Linked DNA regions of Homo sapiens: region 1 is linked to region 2. Evidence: promoter capture Hi-C in human tissues and cell types (Jung and others, 2019). All regions are on one chromosome and are shown on one strand. The core of a region is centred on a gene start or on the middle of the fragment in contact, and the rest is flanking DNA. Distances in the headings are between cores, read along the strand shown. Region 1 overlaps LOC107986454 (a long non-coding RNA gene). Region 2 holds the start of ARAP3 (ArfGAP with RhoGAP domain, ankyrin repeat and PH domain 3).

Region 1 (6,604 bases), core at 3,062-5,561, 140 kb before region 2:
CAGGAGAAAGATGGAGCCATAGGCAGCTTCCACCCCTTTGGATGGTGGCCAACACCCATCTCCCCAGCCACAGTATCTCTCACAGCCCCTGGGGAAGCCAGAAGCAAGCAACACTGCCCAGGAGTTTTAAAACTGATTCTTCCCTTAAGCTCAAGTCCCACCCACCTCCCAACCCAGTGAGCTTGCTGGTTGGCTGTCCATGAGTGTTGGCTGCCAGATGTGCCATCATCCGGCACAGGATGTACAGGAAAGAGGGCAATGGCTTCCCGGACCAGAGTCTCCACCCAGAATTCCAGCCAAGGCCCCAGAGCTCCCAGGACCTGGAGAATTTGTTCCCCCTGGTTGTGTTTGGAATTGGCTGGTTTTCTGGGCACCAGGCCCAGCTCAGTTTAATTTTTGTTTATTTTTATGTACAGATTCTCTTCTGTTTGGGGATGAGCTTTGTGTAAATTATTATTATTTATATGATAAAGAATAAATCACACCAAATAAAAAAACCCACAATCTCTTTTTCTCAATAGAATTACTAAATTAGGGGCTGAAAGGAACAGCCGATATGCTGGGGTTTGGTTTCAGGAAGGCTTTGGACATGGATTCTCGCAAAACGTCTTAGTAAATGGGCTCTGTTATCCTGGATTTGATGCTACCCACAGTCCGCAGAGGCATAAGGGGCCTCCCAGAAAGATGGCAGTGGTTCAGGCCTAAGGGTGGCTTCCTGGCCCTCCAGACATCCCACCCCTGGAGAGATGAGTCGGGCATTTTGAAGTGATTCGCTAACTCAGAATGGGGAAAAAAAGGGAAAACAGGAGTTGGGGATTCTTGCCAGAACATGATCAAATGCCCTGAACTGGGGTGGGGGTAGGGTTCATAGGAGTTACTTGAATAGTGGCATTATTACATCAGGGAAAATGAGCCAATCATTTCTTTGCCTATTCATTAAATTTGCATGCTAAGACTCTATTGGTTGGAATGAAATGAGTCAGGAGGCAGGGATGCAGATGGGCAGAGGACCAGCTGGGCCTGGAAAGTGTCCCCAAGTGGCCCCCATCCCAGCCAGGGTAGGGAGAAGACCAATTCACCAAAAATACTGCACCCTCACCCCCTATCATCCACCTTTGGATAAAATTCTGTTTGGGAACTAGAGAAAGACACACCCAGGGCAAGAATCCATCCTGGGGCTAATATCCTAAAGACCAGATAGAGAAAAAAGTCAGCAATAGTTGTTTTTTGTTTGTTTTTGTTATTTTTGTTGTTGTTGTTTTAAATCTCCTAGGACCTCAGGCTACCAGAGATTTTTCTTTTTTTTTTTTTTTTGACGAAGTTTCGCTCTTGTTGCCCAGGCTGGAGTTCAATGGCGCAATCTCTGCTCACCGCAACCTCCGCCTCCCGGGTTCAAACGATTCTCCTGCCTCAGCCTCACGAGTAGCTGGGATTACAGGCATGCGCCACCACGCCTGGCTAATTTTGTATTTTTAGTAGAGACGGGGTTTCTCCATGTTGGCCAGGCTGGTCTCAAACTCCCGACCTCAGGTGATTCGCCTGCCTCAGCCTGCCAAAGTGCTGGGATTACAGGTGTGAGTCACCACACCTGACCAGCTACCAGAAAGTTTTAAAAAACATCTAGGCTGGGCGCGGTGGCTCATGCCTGTAATCCCAGCACGTTGGGAGGCCGAGGCGGACGGATCACTTGAGGTCAAGAGTTGGAGACCAGTCTGGCCAACATGGTGAAACCCTGACTCTATTAAACATACAAAAAATTAGCCGGGCATGGTGGCGCATGCCTGTAATCCCAGCTACGCAGGAGGCTGAGGCAGGAGAATCGTTTTAACCTGGGAGGCGGAGGTTACAGCGAGCTGAGATCGCACCACTGCACTCTAGCCTGGGCCACAGAGCGAAACTCAGTCTCAAACAAACAAACAAACAAAATCCATACACACACAGAAAAACTTCTGGCACCGTTGCCTATCAGCTTTTTCTCAAACTGTGTCCTCTTCCTAGAATGGACTTCTCCTATCTTCCCACCTAAGTAAGTCCTACCTTTGCGTCAAGGCACAGCTATAGCCATTGTCATGGTGGGGTCCCAGAGCAGGGACTCTGGCGTCTCCTCTTGAGCTTGAAAATCTACTCTGCCGCTTAATAGCTGTGGAAAATTTGGGCAACTCGCTTAATCCTCCCTGAGCCTTAGTCTCCCCATCTGTAAATGGGATAATAATAGCAATCACACATACCCAGAGGCTTAAGAGTGAGGATTAAATCAGAAAGGTCACATGTAAAATGTGCTTACACAGTAAGTGCTCTATTAAAGTGGTAGTTATTTAGAATGATACTCTAGTAAGCTATCCCAGAGCTCCCCAACTGGGAATTAACTGTGTCCCACTCTGACATGTACCTTGGGAACACAGGGATTCCACCTTTAGGGTTTCTGACTAAATCATTTTTCACAGTCTGCCCTGAATCAGCTATTATGTAATGAATCTGGCAGTCCCTAGCCAAGCTTTGCACTTAGTAGGTACTTGCTAAGACAATAAATGCTTGTTTAAAATATTGCCCACCTAGTCAAATTCCCAAACCCTGTAAAACCCCACTAAATTCTAATCTATTTGTCCTGAGTCCCACACAATGCCTGGTTCAGCCACTTCCAGTAGAGTGGGAAATGGGGAGCAGTGGAAGATGGGCTGGGGCCCCAGGAGGAGAGGGGAGATGAGAGGTGGGAAATAAATGGAGCCTGTAAGGGGTTTTACTGTGTCCAGGCCACATGGATCAATCTGTTTTCACTGCCCCTCCATAGGGCACTTTAAATTCCACCCTCGTCTTTGATTAACCAATGGCTGACCTGAGACAGGTCTGCTTGTGCAGGTCCTCATCCAGCCAGAGGAGGTGTATATTGATTAGCTAGACTAGGGCAATGAACTGTACAGGCTCTGGATTGCCTAAAAGGCCCCTTGAGAGGTGGTCCTTGTGGGCGAGGGAAATCTCTGAGTCACCGTGGGTACTCATGCACTTGCCCATGAATAACCATACATTTATATGTGTATGTTTGTGGGTAAATACTGGCCCTTTTATCTTGGTGTGTATTCAGTAATTCATTCATTTGTTCATTTATTATTTATTGAGGCCCTACTGTGGGCTAGCACAATGCCGACGCTAGAATGTGGTAGTCGCTAAGGCAAAATTCCTGCCCATACTGAGCTTTTTTTCTAGCGAGTGGAAAGAGTAACAGTAAAGCAAAGAAATTAACAATTTAGTTTTAGATCGTGAAAGTGCTGTAAAAATAATAAAACAAGATAAAGGGATAGAGAGCAACAGTGCATGTAGAGGGAGCTCCTTTAGGACGAGTGGTTTGGGTCAAGACCTAAATGATGAGAACAAATCAGCCTCAGAAAAAATCTGGAAACAGAGCATTCCAGGCAGAGGGCACAGCAAGTGCAAAAGCTCGGAAGAATTGCTTTGGGCCAGTGACTCTAGGAATCTGTGTCATTCTGAGGCAAATGTCAATCAGCTTTTATTGCACGTACACATTTGTATCTTTCCATTGCTGTTAGAATCATGCCAACCTCCTCACTGAGACCTACAGTCTTACAACCCCACCCACTGGCCTCCAATCCCATTGGCTTCTTCAGGTCCTTGAATAAGATGGATTCCCTCCTGCCACAGGATCTTTGCACAGTCTGATCCCATCACCCTGCATACTGTTTCCTCCCCTCTTTCCAGAATTAAATCCTTTTTTCTTTCTTTCTTTCTTTCTTTCTTTCTTTCTTTCTTTCTTTCTTTCTTTCTTTCTTTCTTTCTTTCTTTTTCTTTCTTTCTCTTTCTTTCTTTCCTTCCTTCCTTCTCTTTCTTTCTTTCTTTTTTTCTTTCTTTCTCTTTTTCCTTCCCTCTCCTCTCCCCTCCCCTCTCCTCCCCTCCCCTCCCCTCTCTCTTCTTTCCTCTCTCTTCTCTTCTTGCCCAGGCTGGAGTGCAATGGCACGATCTCGGCTCACCGCAACCTCTGCCTCCCGGGTTCAAGCAATTCTCCTGCCTCAGACTCCTGAGTAGCTGGGACTACAGGCATGTGCCATCACACTCGGCTAATTTTGCATTCTTAGTAGAGACGGGGTTTCTCCATGTTGGTCAGGCTGGTCTCAAACTCCCGACCTCAGGTGATCTGCCCACGTTGGCCTCCCAAAGTGCTGGGATTACAGGCGTGAGCCACCGTGCCTGGCCTTTTTTTTTTTTTGAGATGGAGTCTCACTCTGTCACCCAAGCTGGAGTCCAGTGGCACAATCTCTGTTCACTACAACCTCCACCTCCCAGGTTCAAGTGATTCTTCTGCCTCAGCCTCTTGAGTAGCTGGGACTACAGGCATGTGTCACCATGCCAGGCTAATTTTTGTATTTTAGTAGAGATGGGGTTTCACCATGTTGGCCAGGGTGGTCTTGAACCCATGACCTCAGGTGATCCACCCACCTCAGCCTCCCAAAGTGTTGGGATTACAGGCATGAGCCAGTGTGTCCGGCCAAATCCTACTTTCTTTAGCTCTCAGGAAGCCTACGGTGGGTCACCCTTCTACCTTCTACACTAGATCAGTTTCCTTTGTTAGATGCTTTCATATTACCAAGTTCCTATAGTCAACTTCTTATCTTACTTAGTAATTATGCATTATCTTATCTGATATTAGTATCTGACTTCCCACCAGAATTACAACCCTCTGGGAAAGCTGGTTATCTGAGATTTTTTTGTTTGTTTTTTGAGACATACTCGCTCTGTTGCCTGGGCTGAAGTAGAGTGGCCCGATCTTGGCTCACTGGAATTTCTGCCTCCCAGGTTCAAGCAATTCTCATGTTTCAGCCTCCAGAGTAGCTGGGACTAGAGGTGCCCGCCACCACGACAAAGCTAATTTTTGTATTTTTAGTAGAGACAGAGTCTCGCCATGTTGGACAGGCTGGCCTTGAACTCCTAGCCTCAAGTGATCCACCTGCCTTGGCCTCCCAAAGTGCTGCGGTTACAGGCATGAGTCACATTCCCAGCCTGAGGGCTTGTTATCTTACCTGTGTAACTTATCTGTATCCCCTTTATACAGGGGAATATATTGACAGCCTTCAAATGTGTTCTATGTTCAATATATTCAATATATTCAGTATATTCAAAATATATTGGCAGCCTTCAAATTCTGCGAGGCTGTCACATTGCAGAGGAAGACCATGTTAACATAGGAGCAGGGAGGTGAAGAAGTGGGTTGTTAAGGAGAAGTGGGTGGGGTTCCTTCTAAGGAAGGTCTTATAAGAATGAGAAGTTTCAGGGGTAGAACAGGTGCCTTAGGAGGTAGTGAGTTCCCTGTCCTTGGGGGTCTGTAAGCAGACAGGAGAATAGAGGGAGGTGCCCCAGGGAGTCTTCATGTCAGCATCAAGGTTCTGTGATTAGTAGTCCACCAGCTGACCAGGTCCTTCAACCCCAACGCAGCTGTAACAATGGGAGCCCCAGGTGCTGAGTGGTGCTGGGTCTGACCCAGTGAGATAAGCGTCTGACTTAAGGAACTTGGGGGTGGACAGGGTCGTTCCCAGCTTCAGACTCCATCAGGGACTCTAGGTGGCTGCTGCTCCCCCTCCTTTCTGCCTAGCTCTGAAAGGGCTAGGAAGGAGGGAAGGCAGCGGGTGGGGGTGGGAGGAGGAGCTTCCGCAAGTCTTAAGTGGCTCCCCAGCTGGAGCTATGGTGCATATTTTAAGTGGAGTTTACAGACAATGGATCTCTCTAGGGCTTGGAGGGGAAGGAAGCAGAAATTCAGGACCATTCTGTGAATTCCCAAGTTCTTTGTGTCCATTGTGTAGGGAACAATGCTGTTTGTTCGGCACATTCACTCAAGATGGGGGATGGGGGGAGATGGTTAGGCCCCAGTGTTCCGAGGTTCTTCGAGGGGCGGGGCTGCTCGGGGAAGGGGTGGATGGAAGCTGGAGGGGCTGGGGGTGAGCCTTAAGGGAGGTGAGGATTCCAAGTCTGGTTGTGTGGGTTTGAGCTCCAGGACAGCTCCCTTTAGTACAAATATTGCTTCCCCTCTACACCTCTCCACCCTTCTCCAGAGATTCTAATCCTCAGAGGCTTCTGACCTTGATGTGTTGTCCAAAGGGTTGGGTTGGGGGGCTGAGGAGGAGTGAAGCTGTCTGTTCACCAGGTAACCTTGGACAAGCCACTGCCTCCCGGAGGCCTCACCCTCTTGCTCTATTTCCACAGTTGAAGGGCCAGCTAGAGATGGTCTCTCACAGCCACAAAATTAGGTCCCTTCCATACCACATCCTCAATCTCACCAAGCCTGGGCTCCTTCCTGACTCTCACCCAGTAAGTTCACAATCTTGGTTGCCAGTGGAGGCTGTATATCCCCAGAGTGAGGGAAATGAGAGATGAGGCCAATGTAGGGCCTAGAACCTCACTAATAAGAAAATCTTCACTTACTGGTTAGTTAGCAGCTGCTGGACACTGTGCATACATTCTCTTATAGGGCCTGGGATTAAAAGCTCTGCTCCTAGCCAGGCACAGTGGTACTGCACACCTGTAGTCCCAGCTTCTTGGGAGGCTGAGGCGGGAGGATTGATTGAGCCCAGGAGTTCGAGAACAGCCTGGGCAACATAGCAAG
Region 2 (7,376 bases), core at 1,710-4,209:
TCCACTTTTGGTGAACAAAGTGGCCTCCAAAGTGATTGTGGCTTAATAGTCTATCATTTGAGTGGGGAACAAATCGAGACATGGAAGGGGCTATTGAAGAATTCCCTTCCACATCTCCTCATTGCTTCATTCTTCCTCTTCCTCTGCTCACTAGTGTCCCTTTTGTCCTATGTGTTAAGATTAAGATTTAAGATTTACTAATTTCGGCCGGGCATGGTGGCTCACGCCTGTAATCCCAGCACTTTGGGAGGCTGAGGTGGATGGATCACCTGACAGGAGTTTGAGACCAGCCTGGCCAACATGGTGAAACCCTGTCTCTACTAAAATACAAAAATTAGCTGGGTGTAGTGGCAGGCACCTGTAATCCCAGCTACTCGGGAGGCTGAGGCACAAGGCTGAGGCACGAGAATTGCTTGAACTCAGGAAGACACAAGCCAGGGGCCAGAAGCCTCCACCTGCCCCATATCATTGAGCCAAAGAAGGGAAGTGGGGTCTGAGGGAGGAAGCCAGGTCTCCCTCTCTGTGGCTCTGCCCCATCATCTGGCATTGGTGTCCTTAACTTGGAGTCAGTGGACTTGGATGGGAAAAGAATATTACTTTCACTAATCTCTAGCTGAAATTTAACATTTCCTCCAATTATGACAATAGCAACAAACCAGTCATTTTAGCCATAACTATGGCTTTGTCACCAGTAGAAATCACATATATTTTTATATCATATTACAATATTGCAGATCTTTTGAAATACCATTTATGCTCATCACTGCATCAAAGTTATGTGAGGTATCAACCTACCACTAGATCTTATTTAAAGCATTAATAAAGAAGCACATATATTACTATATCACATCGGTTTTATATGTGTATTACAACATAATTGGTTTCCTTTGCAATCCTATATATTTTATTTTATGCATTTTAAAATATTATTCTGAGATGAGACCACATACTTTACCGTATTGCCAAAGGAGAACATGGCACAAAAAGGTTCAGAACTCTTGCATCTAGCCCCTGACCCAAACTCCCCGGCATCCATTCCTCAAAACTCCCTGTGCCCTTTACTGTCTTTTCCTGCTCCCTTATTTTGCTGGGTTAGTCTGAGTCCTTAAAGAAGAAGCTGCCAAGGCAGAATGCAAGGATTTGACTAGGGGAGATGCCTGTGAGAGAGGAAGGGAGCCTGGAGCTAGGAGAGCTGTGAAGGAGAGAGGGAAGGAATAAAGGTTGAGAGGAGCATCCTAAAACACCAGTCAAAGGAAAGTTCAGCAAAGCCATTGGGAAATCTTGATCCAAAGTCAGCTGTCAAAGGAGTCCCCTATCTCCCAGGAATGGGTCTGCCTTAGATCTCTGCTGAGCTCTGTCACTGGCTGGGAGCAGCCCAGTGGGAAGCTGGCCTTAGATTTCAGAGAGAAGCAGCTGGGGCCATTGGTTAATTTCACTCCTCACAGTGTAAGATCTGTGAGGAGCATTCTCACTGCCACCACAGTTGCCCATCTGAAAAAAAGGACATGGTGCAGGGGTCCTGTCCAGGGTGGTAGGTGAGCATGGTAGTTATAGATATAGACTTGGAGGGTTGGCTATTTTCTAGCTGCAGAGTCTTGAGCAAGTTATTTAATGCTCCCTGTCTCCTTATATGTAAAATAGAGGTGATAAAATTTCCTATTTGTAGGGATATTTGTGAGGATTAAAGTTTGCAAAGCAATGTTTACATAGATCCTGGAGCACGGTCAGCTCTCAATAATTGGTAGCCCTTATTATGGCTATTGCAATTATTATTTTATTACTATAATTCTCTTTCTCAAAGGGAAGGCCGGGAAAGTGGGGCTCCAGTAGGTTGAAGATGACAGTCCCTCCCCTAGCTGAGGCAGCTGGAAGAGGTGGGAACCACTTCCTCCCACTCCCCTCTTCTTCCCCTGAGGCAGGGGTCTTCCCCTAGCTACTGACAGTTCCTGTGTCTGCTGACTCACAGCCAACTTCCTCTCATACAAACAGGAAAACACAGCCGGCCAGCGCCCCCGCCACCCCCAACACATACACACACACACACACACACACACACACACACACACACACACACACACACACAAACACCCCCCCCCCACACCCAAACACTGGTCCTGCTCAGAGAGGGAAGTGCCTCCGCCCCTGGGAGACAGGCTCCAGGACCGGGGTTCCGGCAAGATTAGCGAAGGAGAGAAGGGCCATTCCTCTTCAGGCCTCCCCGGCATCCCCCCTGAAATTTTAGGGTGGGAGTTGGGGAGAAGGGGCGGCTTCTCCCATGAATGAAACAGCTGCTTGCTTGGTCACTGAGCTTGCAGGGCGTCCGCCTGTCCCAAAAAGGCAGCCCCAAACCTTGGTTTGGAAGTAGGGATGTGCCTTGCGGACCTTCATCCCTCGAAGGAACCTAGGCCGGGCCCTTGGGGATGGAAGTGGGGAGAAACAGACGGGTACCCCTCTGCTGGGCCTCTGCGCTTGTTGCCCAGGCCAAGTCTCAATTCTGGATGTCCAGCTTCCGTCCCCACACTAAACTGGTTGCCAGGGTCCAGCCACCCTTCCGGGCGTGGGAGAGGTGCCCTGGGGGATTAGGGCTCGACCTTTCCTCCTCCCTTTTGGCAGGACTGGAGGGCATGGGAGCAGCGGAGAGGATGCAAAGCCGTCCCTGGCACTCTCCCTTTCTCAGTTTCTACCTCCGTCCCAGTCTCCGTCCCGGTCTCTGCCTCTTTGTCCCTCTCCCTGAGGTTGTCTTCGTCCCAACGTGTTCTGGTCCTTTCTCGGCCTGCGAGAGGGCAGACTGGGGGCAGACTCGGAGATAAGCGCGGCGGTTGGGCAAGAAGCCCAAACCCTTTGGAGGCCTGCGCTTGCACAAGGAGTGGCCGGGGCCCCGCGGAGGGAACCGGCCGGGCGGGGCGGGGCTGGGCCCGTCGAGGGAGGGCAGAGGGGAGGCGGGGCCGGCGCGGCGGGACCCAGAACCTCGGACGAGCGGCGGGCACCCGCGAGCGGACGGCGGCCGCGTAGTGAGGTGAGGACCCCCGCGCCCCCCGGGTCCCTGCTTCCCAGACTCCTCCCCATCACCTTCTCGAGGGCCTTCGTGGGCTCCCAGGCCCCCTCGGCGCCGGCGGCCCTCCCCATCCCTGCCACGACCCGCCCCTCCCTCCTGCTGCCCGGCCTCTGCCCCATCCCTCCTCGCCCCCTCCCTCGTCGCAGCCTGCGCTGCCCGCCACTGCCCGCCCCGCCCCCGCCACTCCTGTCCCGCGAGCACCTCAGCTCCCAGCCCCGTGCTGTCGAGCCCGGCCTGAGTCACCGGGAAACCGGGCCCTGAGTCAGGGCCCGAGGCTCAGCACGCGGGCCCTGGCTTGGGAATGAGGCCCAGCTGGAGAGAGGCAGAGGGAGGCCAGCAGTGATGCTGGGACGGAGAGGGCGTCCTGGTCACCGACAGAGCACAAGAGTAACAGGGAGAGAGCCTAGGCCGAGGCGGAAGACAGAAACCCAGGCTCAGAGGCAGACAGAGACACAGATACAACTCAAGATCTGGTTAGAATTGTAGACTGAGTCAAGGACAAGCTTAATAACAGAGAGCAAAACAGGGTGGGACAAGGAGAGGGACAAAGAAGAATTGAGAGGTTGAGATGGAATGGGGCAGGGACAGTGACAAGGCAGAGATAAAACTCAGGGGCCACAGAATTAGAGACAGGTCTATGAAATAGACCAGGGTCAGGGTCGGGGTCAGGCTGGTGGAAGGGGGACAGAGCACAGAGACCTGAGCCCAAGGGAATGAGCAGGGAAAAGGCAAGCTCAGAAAAGGAAGGCTTGGAGAAAGCAGAGGTGGGGGGATGGCATTTCACACTGCCAAATCGCTACAGGGCATGTGCACACACAGGTGAACAGCATGTGAACATGCTGCCGGTGGGCAGAGAGTCCAGAAGCCTCTGGAGTACCCCTGACCAGAGGTCAGGCCTCATCTCTCTGGCATCCCCATCCTTATTCTTCAATTAGCCTCCACCCAGGGCCGGGACCCCACACATTAGGACTGGTTAGGGCTCTCCCGGCAGCCTGACCAAAGCAGGCAGGATGTGGAGGCGGCCAGGGCTGGAGGGACAGGAAGGAAGTCTGAGCAGAGACAATAGGTGGAAGGGGAGGAGGGACTGGGAACAACCAGGATTAGGACGGCAGGCCTGCATACATCGGCTCTGGAAACAAGAGGGAGGGGGCGTCTGCACCTCCTTCCTCCTATCTAGGCTGCCCCTCTCCCTACCTTACTCCAGAGCTGATTGGCCACATCATTGGCCCCTCCTCTGCATCTCCCTATCCCACTCTGACCCACAGCATTCTAGCATCTTGTCCCATGCTTACTCAGTTGGATGTGCAGTCAGGCAGGAGCAGAGCTTTGACCCAGACCCAGGGTGGGCAGGAACTGAGGGGCCAACTCTAGCACTGACTTACTGTGAACCTGGGGCAAGCCCCTTCCCCTCTCTGGGCCTCAGTTTCCTTAACTTCAAATGAAGTCCCTTCCCTAAGTAGAGAGCCATTGCTGTTGTTCTGGGATGGCTCTGCTTCCAGATCGCAGGCCTTTCAGCATCTTTCTTTGGAGGAAGATTGGAGGCTGGTGCTCACTGTCCAGGCCTCAGACTCTGGGGCAGAGAGGGGGATTCTCAGCCTGAGCCCTCCCTTCACCCTGCCCCTCCCCCCAGCAATGGCCTGAGCCCCCATGGCTGCCCCTCAGGACCTGGACATCGCTGTGTGGCTGGCCACGGTGCACCTGGAGCAGTATGCAGACACGTTCCGACGGCATGGCCTGGCTACAGCAGGTGCAGCCCGGGGCCTGGGCCACGAGGAGTTGAAGCAGTTGGGCATCAGCGCCACAGGGCACCGGAAACGCATTCTACGCCTGCTACAGACAGGCACCGAAGAGGGCTCCCTGGATCCCAAATCAGATAGTGCCATGGAACCATCCCCCAGCCCAGCCCCGCAAGCCCAGCCCCCTAAGCCCGTGCCGAAGCCCAGGACCGTGTTTGGTGGACTCAGTGGCCCTGCCACCACTCAGAGACCTGGGCTGAGCCCAGCCCTCGGGGGACCAGGAGTGTCCAGGAGCCCAGAGCCCAGCCCAAGGCCTCCTCCTCTCCCCACTTCCTCCTCTGAGCAGTCTTCAGCCCTAAATACTGTGGAGATGATGCCTAATTCCATCTACTTCGGCCTGGACTCAAGAGGCAGGGCACAGGCAGCTCAGGACAAGTGAGTGGAGTTGGCTCCCTAGGGACTGATGCTGGGAGGAGTGGGGAGGAGAGCATGAGGGGGACGGAGGCGGGGAGCAGGGCATGAAGGCTTGTTCTTCCTCCTCTCTCCTTAAGTAACCAATAGACCTTTCCCTTCAGGGCCCCAGACAGCTCCCAAATCTCTGCCCCCACCCCTGCCCTCAGGCCCACAACAGGCACAGGTAACTGGGTTATCACGGGTTGGGGGAGAGGGATAGTGCCGGCAGGACCTCATACACTCCCAGCGATCTCCTCTTCCTTGTGCGTTCCCCTCTCCTCCTGCCAGTGCACATCATGGATCCTGGTTGCCTGTACTATGGTGTCCAACCTGTGGGGACTCCAGGAGCCCCCGACAGAAGAGAGAGCAGAGGTGTTTGTCAGGGCAGGGCTGAACACAGGTGAGTACTAAATAGGGAAGTGGTGGGAGGGAGGAGCAGGTGAGTCGGTGGCGGCCATGTATCCAGTTATTCAACAAATGTGCATTGAGTATTCACCAGCCAGGCACTCAAGATACAGGATGAGTATCACAGACCTAGTGCCACCCTCAGGCAGCTTGTGACTCAGTGGGACAGACAGGGAATAAAACAAGTAGACAAACCAATGGTCATATAATGGAAAATTGGGAGAAGTGCTTTTCTTTCTTTCTTTCTTTTTGAGACGGAGTCTTGCCTTGTTGCCCAGATTGGAGTGCAGTGGCACAATCTCGGCTCACTGCAACCTCCCCCTCCTGGGTTCAAGCGATTCTCCTGTCTCAGGCTCCCGAGTAGCTGGGATTACAGGTGCGTGCCACCATGCCCGGCTAATTTTTATATTTTTAGTAGAGATGGGGTTTCGCCATGTTGGCCAGGCTGGTCTCGAACTCCTGACCTCAGGTGATCCTACCTCCTTGGCCTCCCAAAGTGCTGGGATTACAGGCATGAGCCACTGTGCCCAACCAGGAGAAGTGCTTTTCATTTTTTCATTCAACAAATATTTATTGAGCAACTATCATGCACCGGATGTAGATGCTTGGGATAGATCAGCGTACACAGAAATCCCTGCCCTTGTGGGGAGATAGTCTATTAACAATAAACATAATACATTAAATACTATAGAACGTTAAAAGGTATTAAGTGCCATGGAAAAAATAGAGCAGAGTAAGAGGGCTGGGGGGTTGGCCGGGCATGGTGGCTCACACCTGTAATCCCAGCACTTTGGGAGGCTGAGGCAGACGGATCACCTGAGGTCAGGAGTTTGAGACCAGCCTGGCCAACAGGATGAAACTCCGTCTCTACTAAAAATACAAAAATTAGCCAGGTGCGGTGGTGGACGCCTATAATCCCAGCTAGTTAGGAGGCTGAGGAAGGAGAATTGCTTGAACCGGAGAGGTGGAGGTAGCAGTGACTAAGAAAAAAAAAAAGAGGGCTTGGGGGCAAAATGGGTGGACTGCAATTTTTCATTTACAGTTAGCGGAGCGTTAAGAAGATGACATTTGATCAAAAACTTGAAGGAGGTGAAGGAGTTAGCCATGAAGATAACTGGGGAAGAGTGCCCCGGTAGGGCAAGTGATTGGAACAGAGGCCTCAAGGCGGGTGTGTGCCCAAAGGGATCCAGGAGCAGTGAGGAGGCCAGGCCATCTTGGCTGGGGCAGGTGAGCCACGGTGGGAGGAATGGCAGGAGATGAAGTCAGAGAGGTAAAAGAGGCCAGATAAGGGTCAGGCACAGTGGCTCATGCCTGTAATCCCAGCACTTTGGGAGGCCAAGGTTGGCGGACCACCTGAGTTCAGGAGTTTGAGAGCAGCCTAGTCAACATGGTGAAACCTCGTGTCTACTAAAAATACAAAAAAAATATAGCCGGGCGTGGTGGTGGGCGCCTGTAGTCCCAGCTACTCAGGAGGCTGAGGCAGAGAATGGCGTGAACCCGGGAGGCGGAGCTTGCAGTGAGCAAAGGTTGTGCCGCTGCACTCCAGCCTGGGCAACAAAGCAGGACTCCGTCTCAAAAAAAAAAAAAAATAGCTGGGGGTGGTGGCGCACACCTGTAGTCCCAGCTACTAGGGAGGCTGAGGCAGGAGAATCACTTGAACCCGGGAGGCGGAGGTTGCAGCAAGTCAAGATCATGCCACTGCCCTCCATCCTGGACAACCGAGTGAG

Evidence for each region. The method cuts DNA at HindIII sites, captures the fragments that hold promoters and counts their contacts. A contact is called where the count stands out against the background at its distance.
Region 1: a contact is called between a fragment that was not itself captured here and the fragment with the promoter of ARAP3 in region 2, in 2 of the 25 tissues and cell types used here (aorta and neural progenitor cells).

The regions. Positions count from the first base shown.
Region 1 is chr5:141,815,943-141,822,546 of GRCh38, reverse strand. LOC107986454 (a long non-coding RNA gene) reads left to right here. Exons shown (of 3, transcript XR_001742906.2): 1 at 1-1,058. Among named protein-coding and RNA genes, the nearest start is that of PCDH1, 59 kb to the left of the region's middle. RefSeq lists enhancers at 4,915-5,905, 5,906-6,604. The HindIII fragment of the contact is 6,731 bases long and covers 946-6,604 here.
Region 2 is chr5:141,677,813-141,685,188 of GRCh38, reverse strand. It overlaps ARAP3 (ArfGAP with RhoGAP domain, ankyrin repeat and PH domain 3), which reads left to right and starts at 2,959. Exons shown (of 33, transcript NM_022481.6): 1 at 2,959-3,016; 2 at 4,686-5,226; 3 at 5,367-5,428; 4 at 5,533-5,644. The coding sequence starts at 4,703. RefSeq lists a silencer at 2,910-2,959. The HindIII fragment of the contact is 12,570 bases long and covers 1-7,376 here.